2 separate regions of the Homo sapiens genome follow, and region 2 is linked to region 1. Evidence: promoter capture Hi-C in 16 types of primary human blood cells and fetal thymus (Javierre and others, 2016). All regions are on one chromosome and are shown on one strand. Each heading gives the region's core, a stretch centred on a gene start or on the middle of the fragment in contact. The rest is flanking DNA. Distances are from core to core; before and after follow the strand shown. Region 1 holds the start of RNASE11 (ribonuclease A family member 11 (inactive)). Region 2 has its middle 19 kb from the start of RNASE10.

Region 1 (6,749 bases), core at 2,253-4,752:
GCAGTAAAGACAATAAATGAAAGATAAAATAAGAAGATTAAAGAGGTAGTTCTTTCTTCCTCCTGACAGTTATTCCTGGTAGGGACCCCTACATGTAGGTTAAAATTTTTATATCTGTGAATGGAACTATGATATAATAGAAAGACAATCAGCTGTGGAGTCTGAAGACTCATGTTCAAATTCCTGCTTTTCTGCTTATAATTTATTCAACCTTATTTAACTCCAGTTTCCCCATCTGAAAAAAATTGTGAGAATTACGTAAGGTGACATGTTTAAAGATCTACAACCAAGTATTTGTTTCTTATCCTTTTCCCTTGGTCTATAATCTCATTGGTGGGGTGTATAATCTCCATGGTGGGTCACGATTCTCACTCAACACATTCCCTCACCATTACTGTATCTCCTATAGCCTCATATAGAACCTGGCACATGGTAGCCACTCGAAAACAAAATAAAACACACATTGCCATTTCCCCATCTCTCATTTCTTTTGCCACCCATTCTCATTCATAAGATTTCTGTCTTTACCAGTTCCTTCGGCAAGTTGATCCTGTAGAGGAAGATTCCACTTTGTTGCAGAGCTAAAAGTGAAATCGTGTTTGTTTCCTGGGAGTTTCTGCTGTTGTGTCTAACTGAGGGAAGGAGGGGCAACAGAGGGGTAGATAGGGTTGTATGAGATTGACTCAGGAGACCACGTGGAACCAAGGAAGCTCAGGGAGAACTGAACAAAGTGCCCATTTGGCAGTCGGAATCCCAATGACCTGGGCAGTACCATTGCTTCTTATTCTGTGAAATATTTTCTGTCTATTTATACCAAAACCCAGCATGACTTTTTTGTTTTCTGAAACCCTACAGCACAGATTAAGTTGCACTTCATTTTATATGATCTTTTTCATTTTTCCAGTTAGTCAATTCATGTTAATCTTTTCTCCCTCTTGTTAGGCTAAAAATTCCTCGAGCCTGAAACACAGTTTCTGATTATTTATACTTTTATTCATATAGAATCAAATAATGAACTGTAGATTAATAAAGAATCTGCACTCCAGGATCAGTTATAAATTTTAATGGAATTATCCACAATTTTGCATTCTTCACTCCTCCAGTTAGTATAAATAATCAAGAGTTTACTATAGTGCTAAAGAGTAGATGTTAAGGAAACAGGAAGAAGAGCAGAGCAGAAATTCTCAGTCTTTCTGAAACATGTAATTCAAGTGGGCAGCATTCATAGCTGCCTGAGTTTTATTTAGTGTGTGTAATTACTGCACACACACTAATTTCTCAACACTATTTGTTAACAACATAACATGACCTTACTAGTATATAAAATCCTTTACTTGAGGTCAATCCTGGAAAATCCCTAAAGAAAGGTTATTTAAGTTAATAATTATTTCTCTCTCTTTAGAATGATTCTATTTTCCTCTTTTTTATGTTCCACCTCTAAAGCCACCATCCCTTCTACATTGATCTCCTACATTATTACCCTTACTTCCCTCCTAATCACCCCTTCCTGACCCTCCAATTTCTTCTATACACTACTTTTCTAAAAACATAACTTGCAACAACACTCAGAATTTTTGAAACATTCCTCTTTGCTCACAGTAGGAAGTCTGATCCCCTGAGCCCAGGAGCCAATGCTCCACTTGCTCTCATCTCAATCTGCCTATCGGGATTTATCTCCCATTATTTTGCTACACAAACCTGCCCTAGTCAATCAGTGTGACTCTTTTTTTAATATACCCTATGCCATCTCTCCCACTTAGCTTCTTTCTTGAATGGCTATTCTTTCCTGCCTCTTGAAATCCTTCAAAGCCCAGTTCAGATCTCATTCTTTATTTTACATGTTTCATCACCGCTTAAGTCTACTAAATCCATTTCCAACTTCTCTGAACTTCTTATCATTCCCTTCTTATACCACTCATTTGATGTTATTATGTATGAACTTTTAAAAAATTATATTTGAATTTAAAATGTCTGTGTGAGAAACTAGAGGAAAAACCTAGCACCAAGAATACATAAGCCTTAATTGGGTTGATGGATTATTGATAGATTATTAAGAATTAAGTATATGTGTCCAGGTGTGTGTCCAAGGATGCCTTGACCAAAGACCTGATACATTTTGAAGGCAGAAAGGATGAGGGATTTATAGGGAATTTATTTTGTTTCCTAAACTTCTATATCCTATACCATTGACATCAGTAGTGAGGTGACAATAGGGAAACAGAAAGACCAGGAGGAGAAAGATAAACAGGAAGAAGAGCAGGGCAGAAATTTCCAGTCTTTCTGAGACATATATTTCAAGTGGGCAGCATTCACAGCTGCCTAGGTTTTATTTGAAACTGCTAAGAGGTGCCCTTTAAAAAAATATACCTGGCTGGGCACAGTCACTCATGCCTGTGGTCTCATTGCTTTGGGAGGCCAATGCGGGAGGATCACTTGAGGCCAGAAGTTCAAGACCAGCCTAGGCAACATAGTGAGAATCCATCTCTACAACAACAACAACAACAAAAAGCCAGTTGTGGTGGCATATGCCTATAGTCCCAGCCACTCGGGAGGCTGAGAGGAGAGGATTTCTTGAGCCCAAAAGTCTGAGACTGCAGTGAGCTGTGATCACACAACTGCACTCCATCCTGGGCAACAGAATGAGACTCTGATCCTATATATCTGTATAATATATATGTATATACATATTTAGATACAGATAGATAGATATAGATACACACACACCCAAACTACGAATGTCTAAAATGTCACAATTCATTTGAATTTGGTGTTGATCCCTATTGAATGAAATTACTCTGAGGATACATCCTATTGGTTCATCTCAGTTATACTTTTATCTGCAAGATATTTTTAATTAGAAAGGAGGAGCTTCGGTGAAGAAGGGGAGAAAAAGCACTGAAAAGGAAAGAAAAGACAACAAAACCTAGGGAGAGGGATAGAAAAAGGAATCAGAATTCAGAAAATAGATGTAGGAACCTAAAGGATGCATTTCATCCACTTCAAAGTTTTGCCCAAAAAATGATGCTACCAAGGCCCAACAAATCATGTGCTAGGGACCACCTACCTGTTCCTGTTCAGTTTCTATTCAGATGCTGAGGGCTCTGTTTACCTGGTGACACCCAAAATTCTATGGAGACAACAATGACAACAGAATTACCACAGAGAACTAGAAAATGAAACTCAGCTGAAAAACGGCCACCTAAGATGGAAGAAGCCATGAGATGAGTAAGCGTTGCCTACTCACAAGGTTGCAAACTGTCCTTCACTTACGATTATCCCCCAACGCCCCCTCCTAAATCTGATCAATCGCATGGAACTTGATGGTTACAAAAGACAGAGCTAACAACTAGCGTAAGTGCACCTTCTTCTTTGACATGACCTTGAACTAAGTCCAAATGAGCAATGAACAGCTGAAGTCTCTCAACTGAAAAGATCAGGACAGAGAGTGCTCTCCAAAGCCTGTGACCCACCCATGCCTGCTCTAGGTCACTGTATGAGTCTCTAGCTCTCACATACAGGATTGAAATGCCATAGCTCAGAATTAGTGACAACATAATCTGGCCTTTATTTGCCAATTGCCCCTTATTTCTTACTACCTCACAATACAAATTCTCCCCTCCAACAATGGCTATAATATAGCCATTTTCTGTACTACTTAAGAAATAGAATTATAGACTAATAGACTTGGAAAGAACTTGAAAGATTATCTAATTCAAGATCCTCACTTTACAGACAAGGAAACTAATGAATAGAGAAGAAGAGGACTTCATGAAATCCCCAGAATTAGAAATCTCTCTTTCTCGTCCTTCTCCTTCTAGCTGTAAGGATACTATGCCCATAGCTGAATGTGGGGAAACTAAGCAGTAAGTCCAATTGTAAGAACTAAAAAGAGAAAAGAGTTAGTAGTCCGGCTCAAAGTCCTCTCTGTTCCTTCTGGAGACACAAAGAGGAGGTCACTGAGCTCTGAAAGTCTCAATCCCTCCCTGGGAAATCCTTATCTGTGTCTCTCTAAAGTCTTTAAGGGAAATGGTTTCAGACCAGTCAGGCTCCTTTCTTTATTTCAAGACACAAAGGGAGCTGCTGAACAGGAACAGATGCTGCCTGAGTTGTATATGCTATCTTTAAAAAAGACCCTAAGAGGTGACCTCTGTTGCTTCTACAGCTAGAAGCAGAGCTAGGATTAGGCTGAGGTTAATGAGACACTCACTCTAAGACCAAAATTTAAGAGAGTGCCACAAAACTCAATAATCAAGATAAATAATATTTTAATGCAACAATTTTAGAAAATATTTATTTATTTATTTTTGAGACAGAGTCTTGCTCTGTTGCCCAGGCTGGAGTGCAATGGCATGATCTCGGCTCACTGCAACCTCCACCTCCCAGGTTCAAGCGCTCCTCCTGTGTCAGCTTCCCAAGCAGCTGGGATTACAGGCGTGCACCACCACACCCAACTAACTTTTGTATTTTTAGTGGAGAGGAGGTTTCACCATGTTGGCCAGGCTGATCTCAAACTCCTGACCTCAAGTGTTCCACCTGCCTCAGCCTCCCAAAGTGCTGGGATTACAGGCATGAGCCACCACGCCTGGCCAGAAAATAAATTTAATGCAAAATAATCCCTGATGAACAAATGTTAAAATTTTAAATACCAGGATCTGGCCCTGCACTACGTTTCTCACATAACTCATCTTACCCTGATCCTAGCCTTGTCAGATTGGATCTTCAAAATTTTGTGATAGATATTTTGAGCATCCAAGATTTCTTTTTTTTTTTTTTTGAGACGGAGTCTCACTCTGCCGCCCCGGCTGGAGTGCAGTGGCGCGATCTCGGCTCACTGCAACTCCGCCTCCTGGGTTCACGCCATTCTCTTGCCTCAGCCTCCGGAGTAGCTGGGACTATAGGCGCCCGCCACCACGCCCGGCTAATTTTTTGTATTTTTAGTAGAGACAGGGTTTCACCGTGTTAGCCAGGATGGTCTCGATCTCCTGGCCTCGTGATCCACCCGCCTCGGCCTCCCAAAGTGGTGGGATTACAGGCGTGAGCCACCGCGCCCGGCGAGCATCCAAGATTTTTGCATTAATTTTGATTGTTTTAAAATACTGAAATCAAGGCCAGGTACAGTGGCTCACGCCTGTTATCCCAGCACTTTGAGAGGCTGAGGTGGGCAGATCACCTGAGGTCAGGAGTTTGAGACCAGCCTGACCAACATGGAGAAACCTCATCTCTACTAAAAATACAAAAATCAGCCGGGCGCGGTGGCACATGCCTGTAATCCCAGCTACTTGGGAGGCTGAGGAAGGAGAATCACTTGAACCCGGGAAGCAGAGGTTGCAGTGAGCCGAGATCGTGCCATTGCACCCCAGCCTGGATAACAAGAGCAAAACTCCGTCTCAAAAAAAGAAAAAGGAAACACTGAAATCAAATATATTCATCTAGGTTACTAGGTTTTTGGTCTTCTGGTGCCCTCTTAAGTTTTGCACCTCAAGTGAGTGGCTCATTCCCTTTATCTTAATCTCAGTCCTGTTTCTCATCAAAGGACCTAGAGATAAGGGACAAAAAATGGAAACACATGTAGAATTTATGGTTTAATTCAGTAAAGATTATTTTATTGAAGCAGAATAAAACAATCCCAACCCAGCAATACAGGAAGGATAAATTAATTACCAGTGGCTTCCCCTTCCGCTCAAGGCATTGCCCCATGTCCACGGTCCAGGTCTGCCTCAGGCACAGCCAGCTCCAATGCCATTGAGAGAAGAGATCTCAGACTCGGGAGCTGATCTTGAGTTATTTAACATAGCCAAGGAAACTATCTGGCCTCAAGTCATCACAAGTGACAAGAACAAACCCCTCTGTGGGGGAATAGTGGTACCTGCAGGCAGGGTATCTTGTGCCTTCAATGAGCTGACAGACTGTCATTTTGAACTTTGTCTCACTCTGAAAGCAGAAAATGGCCGAAAGGTTTTGGCAAGCAACCTTCTTGGGAGAAATGCAAATACCATTGATTTTTCGAGGCCTCTCATGGATGAAGACATGCTCCTTTTTACAAGTGTGGTCAGGTTCCCTGATAACTCTTTGTATGATCATGTGGTTGCAGTACCTTGCAGGAACGGGAACGTCATTCTGAGGGTAGTCCACATGCAAGTGTTCTAAAGTTGACATCACTGCTTCATCATTCACCTCATTTTCCCAGAACAGAAGCACCAAGAAAATTATCACCATTATTATCATCAGAGGTAAGAGTGACTTCGCATCTTTGGCTTTGACTGCTGTTGAGTAAGGGAAGATAGAAAGTAGCAAAGGACAGTCAGATTCCTCCTGCTCCAACCCCTGGCTGCTCCCCCATCCTTGGAATATTTTATTTCCTTCTCTCCACTAATTAAAATCACACTGACCTTGCAAGATCCAGCTGGAGGCATAGTTCCCCAAGAAAGCCTTTTCTGAACATGCCAGCTCTCAGAGTTTGGTACTGAGCTGTTCTCTAAATTATTCCTGTTGTGTTTGTTTTGTTCTACAAGTTCTTTGACAGCAGATACCACATCTCCTATTTCTCAAATCCTTCGAAGTGCTCAACACAGAGCTAGACATATAGAAAGTGGTCAAGGTTATTCATATTGCTGAATAACCTTCTTTCCCGTAATTTTCTCAACCTTAAATCCACCCAATTGCACATGATTTTAGTACCTTCTACTCATCTATTCTTCCCAATTCCTTCCAAGTCCCTCCCTCTGTCAATCCTGCTTGGCTCTGTGCTA
Region 2 (6,749 bases), core at 2,386-4,885, 63 kb before region 1:
TTGCAAGTACAACACAAATAACTCTTTTTTTTTTTCCAGAACCATTTGAGAGTAAGTTAATGAATGCGCCTCCATTCCTGAATACTTTGGTGTGCCTTTCTTGTAACAAGGATATTCTCATATACAGCTATCAAAATCAGGACATTAACGTTAACATTCACATTATGCTACCATCTAACTCAGACTCTACTCAAATTTTACCATTTGTCTCAATAATGTTCTTTAGAGCAAAAAGATCCAATCAGAATCATGTGTTTCATTTAGTAGTCATGTCTCTTTATTCTCATTTGTTGTAATACAATTCCGCAGGCTTTCTTAGACTTTGACTCTTTTGAAGATTCCAGTCCAGTTATTTTGTAGAATGTTTCTCCATGTGGGTTTGTCCTGATTAGATTTAGATTCTCCATCTTTGGCAGAGATGTCACAAAAATGGTGCATGTTCTTCCCACTGCATCCTCTAAGTTTCAATTCAATTTCAATTTAAACCATTATTGATGATGTTTACTTTGTTCACCTGATTAAAATGAAATCTGCCAGCCTTCTCTACTGAAGTTATTATTTTTTTCTTTGTAACTACTAAGTATTTTGTAGTGGATGCATTTTTAAACTATGTAAGTATTTCAGCTGGGTCCGGTTGGCTCAGGCCTGTAATCCCAGCACTTTGGGAGGCTGGGGGGTTGGTGGAGGGTGAAGATCACCTGAGATCAGGAGTTCGAGACCAGCCTGGCCAACATGGCAAAACCTCATCTCTACTAAAATTATAAATATTAGCTGGGTGTGATGGCAGTTGCCTGTAGTTGCAGTTACTCAAGATGCTAAGGCAGGAGAATCACTTGAACTTGGGAGGCTGAGGTTGCTGTAAGGTGAGATTGCCTCACTGCATTCCAAGCTGGTTGACAGAGCAAGACTCCATCTCAAAAAGAAGAAGGAGAAGGAGGAGGAGGGAGGAGGGAGGAGGGAGGAGGGAGGAGAAGGGGAAGTGGAAGGGGAAGGGGAAGAGGAAAGAGAAGGAGAAGGAGAAGAAGAAGAAGAAGAAGAAGAATAAGAAGAAGAAGAAGAAGAAGAAGAAAACTGTGTAGGTATTTAAATCCTTATATTTTAAATGCATTCATTTATTTATATCAGTATGGATTCATGGTTTCTTGTTTTATTCAATGAGTTATAAGTTGTCCCAGATTAGCCAGTGGAAGCTATTTTAATAGGGCTTCTGTGTGTTTTTGATGTATCCCTATTCTTTCTCCTCCTCCTCCTCCTCCTCTTCTTCTTCTTCTTCTTCTTCCTCTTCTTCTTCCTCTTCCTCCTCTTTTTCTTCTTCTTTCTCTCTTCTTCTTCTTTTCTTTGCTCTGTTGTCCAAGCTGGAGTGCAGGGGTGTGATCATGGCTCACTGCTTTCAAACTCCTGGGCTCAAGCAATGCTCCTACCTCAACCTCCTGAGTAGCTGAGACTACAGGTGTGCATGACCATGCCCAGCTAATGTTTGTTCTTTTCTTTCTTTCTTTCTTTCTTTCTTTCTTTCTTTCTTTCTTTCTTTCTTTCTTTCTTTCTTTCTTTCTTCCTTCCTTCCTTTCTTTCTTTCTCTTTCTTTCTTCTTTCTTTCTTTTTCATTTTTTGTAGAGATAGTGTCTCACTATGTTGCACAGGCCGGTCTCTGAACTCCTGGGCTCAAGGGGTCCTCCTGCCTCGGCCTCCCAAAGTTCTGAGATTACAGGCATGAGCCACCATGCCCAGCCTCCCCATCATTATTTAGGCAGTTCCTTGCTTTTAGAAACTACAAGATGGTCCAAGCTCATTTTATATTTTCCTTCCCCTGGAACCAGTCATTTTTCTAAGATGACCTGGTTGTGTTTAGTGACGAACAGTATTTTGAAACCTGGATCTGGGTGCTAGGTAGGTGCTCATTGCTGTTGGGGTGAGAGAGCTCTAAGGCTGTCTCAGTGGACATAGGTGGGAATATGGCAAATAGCCAATCACACTCACACTCACATGTATTTGCATGTATTTTCTCTTTTTTCTTTCTTTCGTTTTTTTAATTTTTGCTTACAAACCTTTTTTATTTCTCTTATTTTTGAGAAAATCTGATCCTACTGAACTTTGCATGAAGATTTCAAATCTATATGCAAATACGCATAGGCATTATTGTTTTGCATATGGAAAAATGAGGGCTCAAGTCATAGAAATATATGATGGCAGATCAGTGAGGAAATCCTGGGCTATTTTCTAACATGATAGAATAGGGTTTCAGACCTCTTGAATTCAGCAAGGATGTAATTTACAAGTAACTACTCCCTTGAAAATCAGAGTGACCACACTTGTAGTGAAATTCATTCCTGTGGTGCTTGCTGGATTCCATTCTGGTGCTGGAAGCTGGACTGGAGACTGACCATGTTCCTTCAGGTATCCTCAGCAGTGTACAAGGGAAGCTCCTTTCTGAGGGAACCATGCTTGCATGTAGACCTTCACAGTAGTGCAACATAACTTCTCAGAGATCAACATGCCACCATTCAGTGAACTTGGGAATTTCAAGAGGAGGCTAAGTGTCAGCACAGCGTCTACTGAAGTGCAATGCCTGCTTCTTAGGGAAGGCAACAACTCACTAGAAGCAGGCCCTTCAGATCCACAGGTGGATGAAATGAGGATTATTACTCAGCCAAAAAGGACCGGTTGAGTGGCTGGAAGGTCCAATGGCTCATCATCCTCTTGTTTAATAGCAACATATGGGATTTCCTGTCCCTGGGGGTGTGGCAGAGCAGAGTACCCAAAGTACAAGTGGTGACCTGGCCACTGATGTGCAGTTTTCCATAGATCTCATTAAATCTGGCCACAAGGGCAGGCATATCCTTCACTTTTCCTTCACTTTTGCCAGCACTTCCTCTGAGAATGCATGTCTTTTCACAAATTTTAATAAATTTCCTTCTGCAGCATTTTTTTAGTGTCTCTATCAGGGTTTCCAACATATTTGACTGGATATGGATTATAATAGTTAAGTTAGTGCAGGCTATGCTTTCTGGATTCATGGTTTGAGAAAAAAATGGACATAGCTTTTGCCACTTGGTTCTGATTCAGAGCTAACGCCACAAAGAAACGGGATGCTCTCCTGGAGGGAACCTCTCCTTTGAGTGGGGCTTCTTCTGTTAATGCAGAACAGATTTTGAAAGACTCAGCGCTCTTCAGTTTGTTGCAAACTGCAAAACTAAGAACATAGGATATTTGGTGAATTTCACAGCTTGATTTTTCATCTCTATCAATACTTCCAAAGCACTTTTATATTTGCCTTTGATAAATAACATATCCATCAAAATATTGAATGATGTGGAATCTGAGAAGGAATCTCATAAATGCTGGTCTTTCATGAGCCCCTCAAGATCCAACCCATAACAGACTCATGAAAAGTGGTCCAAACCTATACTCCCCCAAAGTGATATTTCTGTTCCCTGCATGGTACCTGTAAATGACATTTGTAGCCAGCTCCACATGGTCCTGGGACCCACAAAAATAAAGTAAGGTTATCAACTCCCCCTTCAAGATGAGCTTGTCAGTTTCTCTTCCAAATTCCTAAAATAGGTTTCTTTAGGAAAGATTACATGCAACAGCCACCTTCTTGTGCTGAAATTCTTTTAATTTCACAATACTATCTGTAAGTAGGTATCTGTTAGCTCTGAAAGGACAGCAGCCACAGGCAAAGCTGGAGGCTCCCACCCCAGGATACACCGAAATCTGCAGCAACCTGCAGGAGAACTCGATTCGAGGGCCTAAGTGCAGCACATGTATTTTCTTTATGTAACATGTAAGTTCTCACATGTATTTTCTTTATGTAACTATATTGAAAACCATACGTTTATACCAATACCTCAATTCAAATCCAACCCCACAAGCTCATATTAGGTTTTCTCTTCCCATATTTATATCTTAATTTTCTTATTTATAACTTTTTGACTTATAAATTTCTTCTCCCATATTCTTTAATATAGTTGCTTATTGCATGCATCTTCATGTATGTAACCAATCTCACCTTGCTGCCGCCATTCCCCCTCCCATATGGATGCCCTTTGCCCACTCTGGCTCTGACACTCTGTGCCAGGGCTGCCCCTCTACATGGGTGTCCACCATTTGGGCCTGGATATCTCACACTAGGCAACCCCTCTGAGTGGACATCTCCTCCACTTGCTCAGGCTGTGATTCTGCAGGCTGTGTTCCCCTCTCAGCCCCCTCAGACATCCCTCACCAGGGACACCTTTTCATCTCTCTTGGGTTCTGAGTTCTTATTCCTGTGCCAGATGGCCCCTCCTCATCAATGTCTATGACCTTGTTCTGCCCCACCTGGTGGCTTTAGGACTAAATGGTTTAGAAAGGGAAGGTTAGGGAAAGAGGACTTATATCTTTTGAAAATTCTATTATATAATAGAATTTTCCATATTGTTGAGTAGTCATTAAAAAGTTTTACTCGATATATTTTATTCTATTAATGTAATGTGATTTATTTAAGTATTCCCTCTTTTGTCACATTAAGGTGATTTCCAATCGTAAGTAATTTGGGCTGGGCATGGTAGCTCATGCCTATAATCCAGCACTTTGGGAGGCTGAGGCAGGTGTATCATGAGGTCAGGAGTTCAAGACCAGCCTGGCCAACATGGTGACACCCTGTCTCTACTAAAAATACAAAAATTACCTGGGCATGGTGGTGGGCGCCTGTAATCCCAGCTACTTGGGAGCTGAGGCAGGAGAATTCCTTGAACCTGGGAGGCAGAGGTTGCAGTGAGCTGAGATCGTGCCACTGCACTCCAGCTTGGGTGACAGAGGAAGACTCCATCTCAAATAAATAAATAAATAATTTGCAGGCTGTTTTCCCTCAAACGAATTCCCTCTAATGGTGTCCTCTACTAGGAAAGGTGTCCTGTACTCACTAATCCATCAAAGGTCTATTGACTTTACAACATATTAAGGTTTAGCTCAACTCCACCTCCCTCCCCTCTTCCTAATATAGCTATATTTCAGTTCTCTTGTTTACCTTTCTAACTTAATACTATGCTAATCATTTTAGTATCTTTTTCAGATAGGCACTGGGTATTCTGAGTTCCTATTTTGTAAAATAAGAATATTAGTATCCTTCTTTTCATTCACTCTCTTTTCGTCTGTGTCCCAGCTTCAGTCAACTGTACTTTACTTTTACATTGCCTTGATTGTTAATATTAATATTTAATTCTGTAACCAAAATTAAGACTTAAGTTCATTGACTGTAAAAGCTGAAAATTGATACAAAATATTTATATTCTTTCTTTCTTTATTTATTTTTGAGACAGGGTTTCACTCTGTCATCCAGGCTGGAGTACAGTAGTGAGATCTCAGCTCACTGCAACCTCTACTTCCCCAGCTCAAGTGATCCTCTCACCTCATCCTCCCAAGTAGCTGGGACTATAGTCATGTGCCACCACTCCAGGCTATTTTTTGTATTTTTCTGTGGAGACATGGTTTCGCCATGTTGCCCACACTGGTCAAACTCCTGCGCTCAAGCGATCCTCCCCGCTCAGCCTCTCAAAGTGCTGGGATTACAGATGTGAGCCACTGTGCCCAACCTATATTATTTTATTTTTAGTTTTTAATTTTTTTGTGTACATATTTAGTCTTATTGTAACAAAGCAACTTGTGCACTTTTAACGTTTAAAACTGAGCATCATCTTTTCTTTCCAGTGAAACGAAAACAAAATTTAAAAATAAACAGGAACAAAATTACAATCGAGAATGTCAATTCCAAATAAGATCCTACAGGTTCTGCTGATTCTCCCATTGAGTGGCAGGGCTCAGGTCATCATTAGGAGAGAATTTATTTTTAAAGTGTCATCTTAAACTGCAAGGATATCTGTCAAACATCACAAACATCCCAAGGAGAAGCCATGTTGTCAAAATGCCCACTTAACCCGGCCAAACATGTCAAAGCCACCCTTTGCTGACCTTCTAAAACCCCATTTTTTAGAACTGTTTTTTTCCTTTTTTTAAACAAAAGACAGTAGACAGATACATGTTGGTAAATGCTAACTGTCTTTATTCACATACAGGCACAGTGTACTCTCTGAGCTCAATATATAGAGAAAGTAGGAAAGAAGCTAGAATTCTCCGCACTGCCACACAGGGCCCTCACACCCTCCAGCTTCCAGCAGAGCAAAGGGAGCAGGTTTTTTTTTTTCCCCACAGAGCTCAGTGGTGTTGATTCCATACAGTTTTTGCTCAGACAGGAAGGGATAAAAATGAATTAAGAATAGAAAGAGGATAGAGGCTCTTTTCCCATTGTATTCTGCTCAAGGTATTTCCCTCCCAAATAAGTTGAAAACCATGGTGTAGAGAAAAGGGACCACGAGAACAGGGTTACTGAGCACAAGAAGCGGGGTGGGGCGGGGGAAAGACTGCAACTTGCTCCCAGGAACTGGAGAAAATTTCTTTAAAAGGAAGGTTGGAATCCATCAGTGTTCTATTAGTCATCTTCTCCTTCATCCTCCTCTCCTTCCTGCCCTTCATCACCATTGTCATCTTCTTCACCTTCACCCTCATCTTCTTCATCAATATTTTCTAATTCTTCCTCCTACTAATCTTCTTCTCCTTCTTCTTCTCCATCATCCATATTGGGAACCAAGTAGTACTATAATGGGTTTGGCCAAATATCACCTTTGATGACCTCTCCTAACTCATCAGCACCTTCATCAGAATGGTGGGTAAATCAGGTAGAGAAGCTCTCTGGTGCCTCATGCTGCCTCTTCCTG

What was found. Contacts are between HindIII fragments. The CHiCAGO score rates a contact against its expected background, and 5 or more counts as called.
Region 2: a contact is called between a fragment that was not itself captured here and the fragment with the promoter of RNASE11 in region 1, in 1 of 17 cell types (M2 macrophages). The highest score is 5.9, in M2 macrophages.

Annotation. Positions count from the first base shown.
Region 1 is chr14:20,584,499-20,591,247 of GRCh38, forward strand. It overlaps RNASE11 (ribonuclease A family member 11 (inactive)), which reads right to left and starts at 3,503. Exons shown (of 3, transcript NM_001394190.1): 1 at 3,362-3,503; 2 at 3,065-3,127. It overlaps RNASE11-AS1 (RNASE11 and RNASE12 antisense RNA 1), which reads left to right and starts at 3,726. Exons shown (of 5, transcript NR_122043.1): 1 at 3,726-3,820; 2 at 5,939-6,230. It overlaps RNASE12 (ribonuclease A family member 12 (inactive)), which reads right to left. Exons shown (of 2, transcript NM_001024822.4): 2 at 5,575-6,263. The coding sequence starts at 6,225. The coding sequence ends at 5,782. The HindIII fragment of the contact is 10,143 bases long and covers 1-6,749 here.
Region 2 is chr14:20,521,647-20,528,395 of GRCh38, forward strand. It overlaps the pseudogene PTCD2P1 and the pseudogene SETP1. Among named protein-coding and RNA genes, the nearest start is that of RNASE10, 19 kb to the left of the region's middle. RefSeq lists a silencer at 5,488-5,698. The HindIII fragment of the contact is 9,274 bases long and covers 1-6,749 here.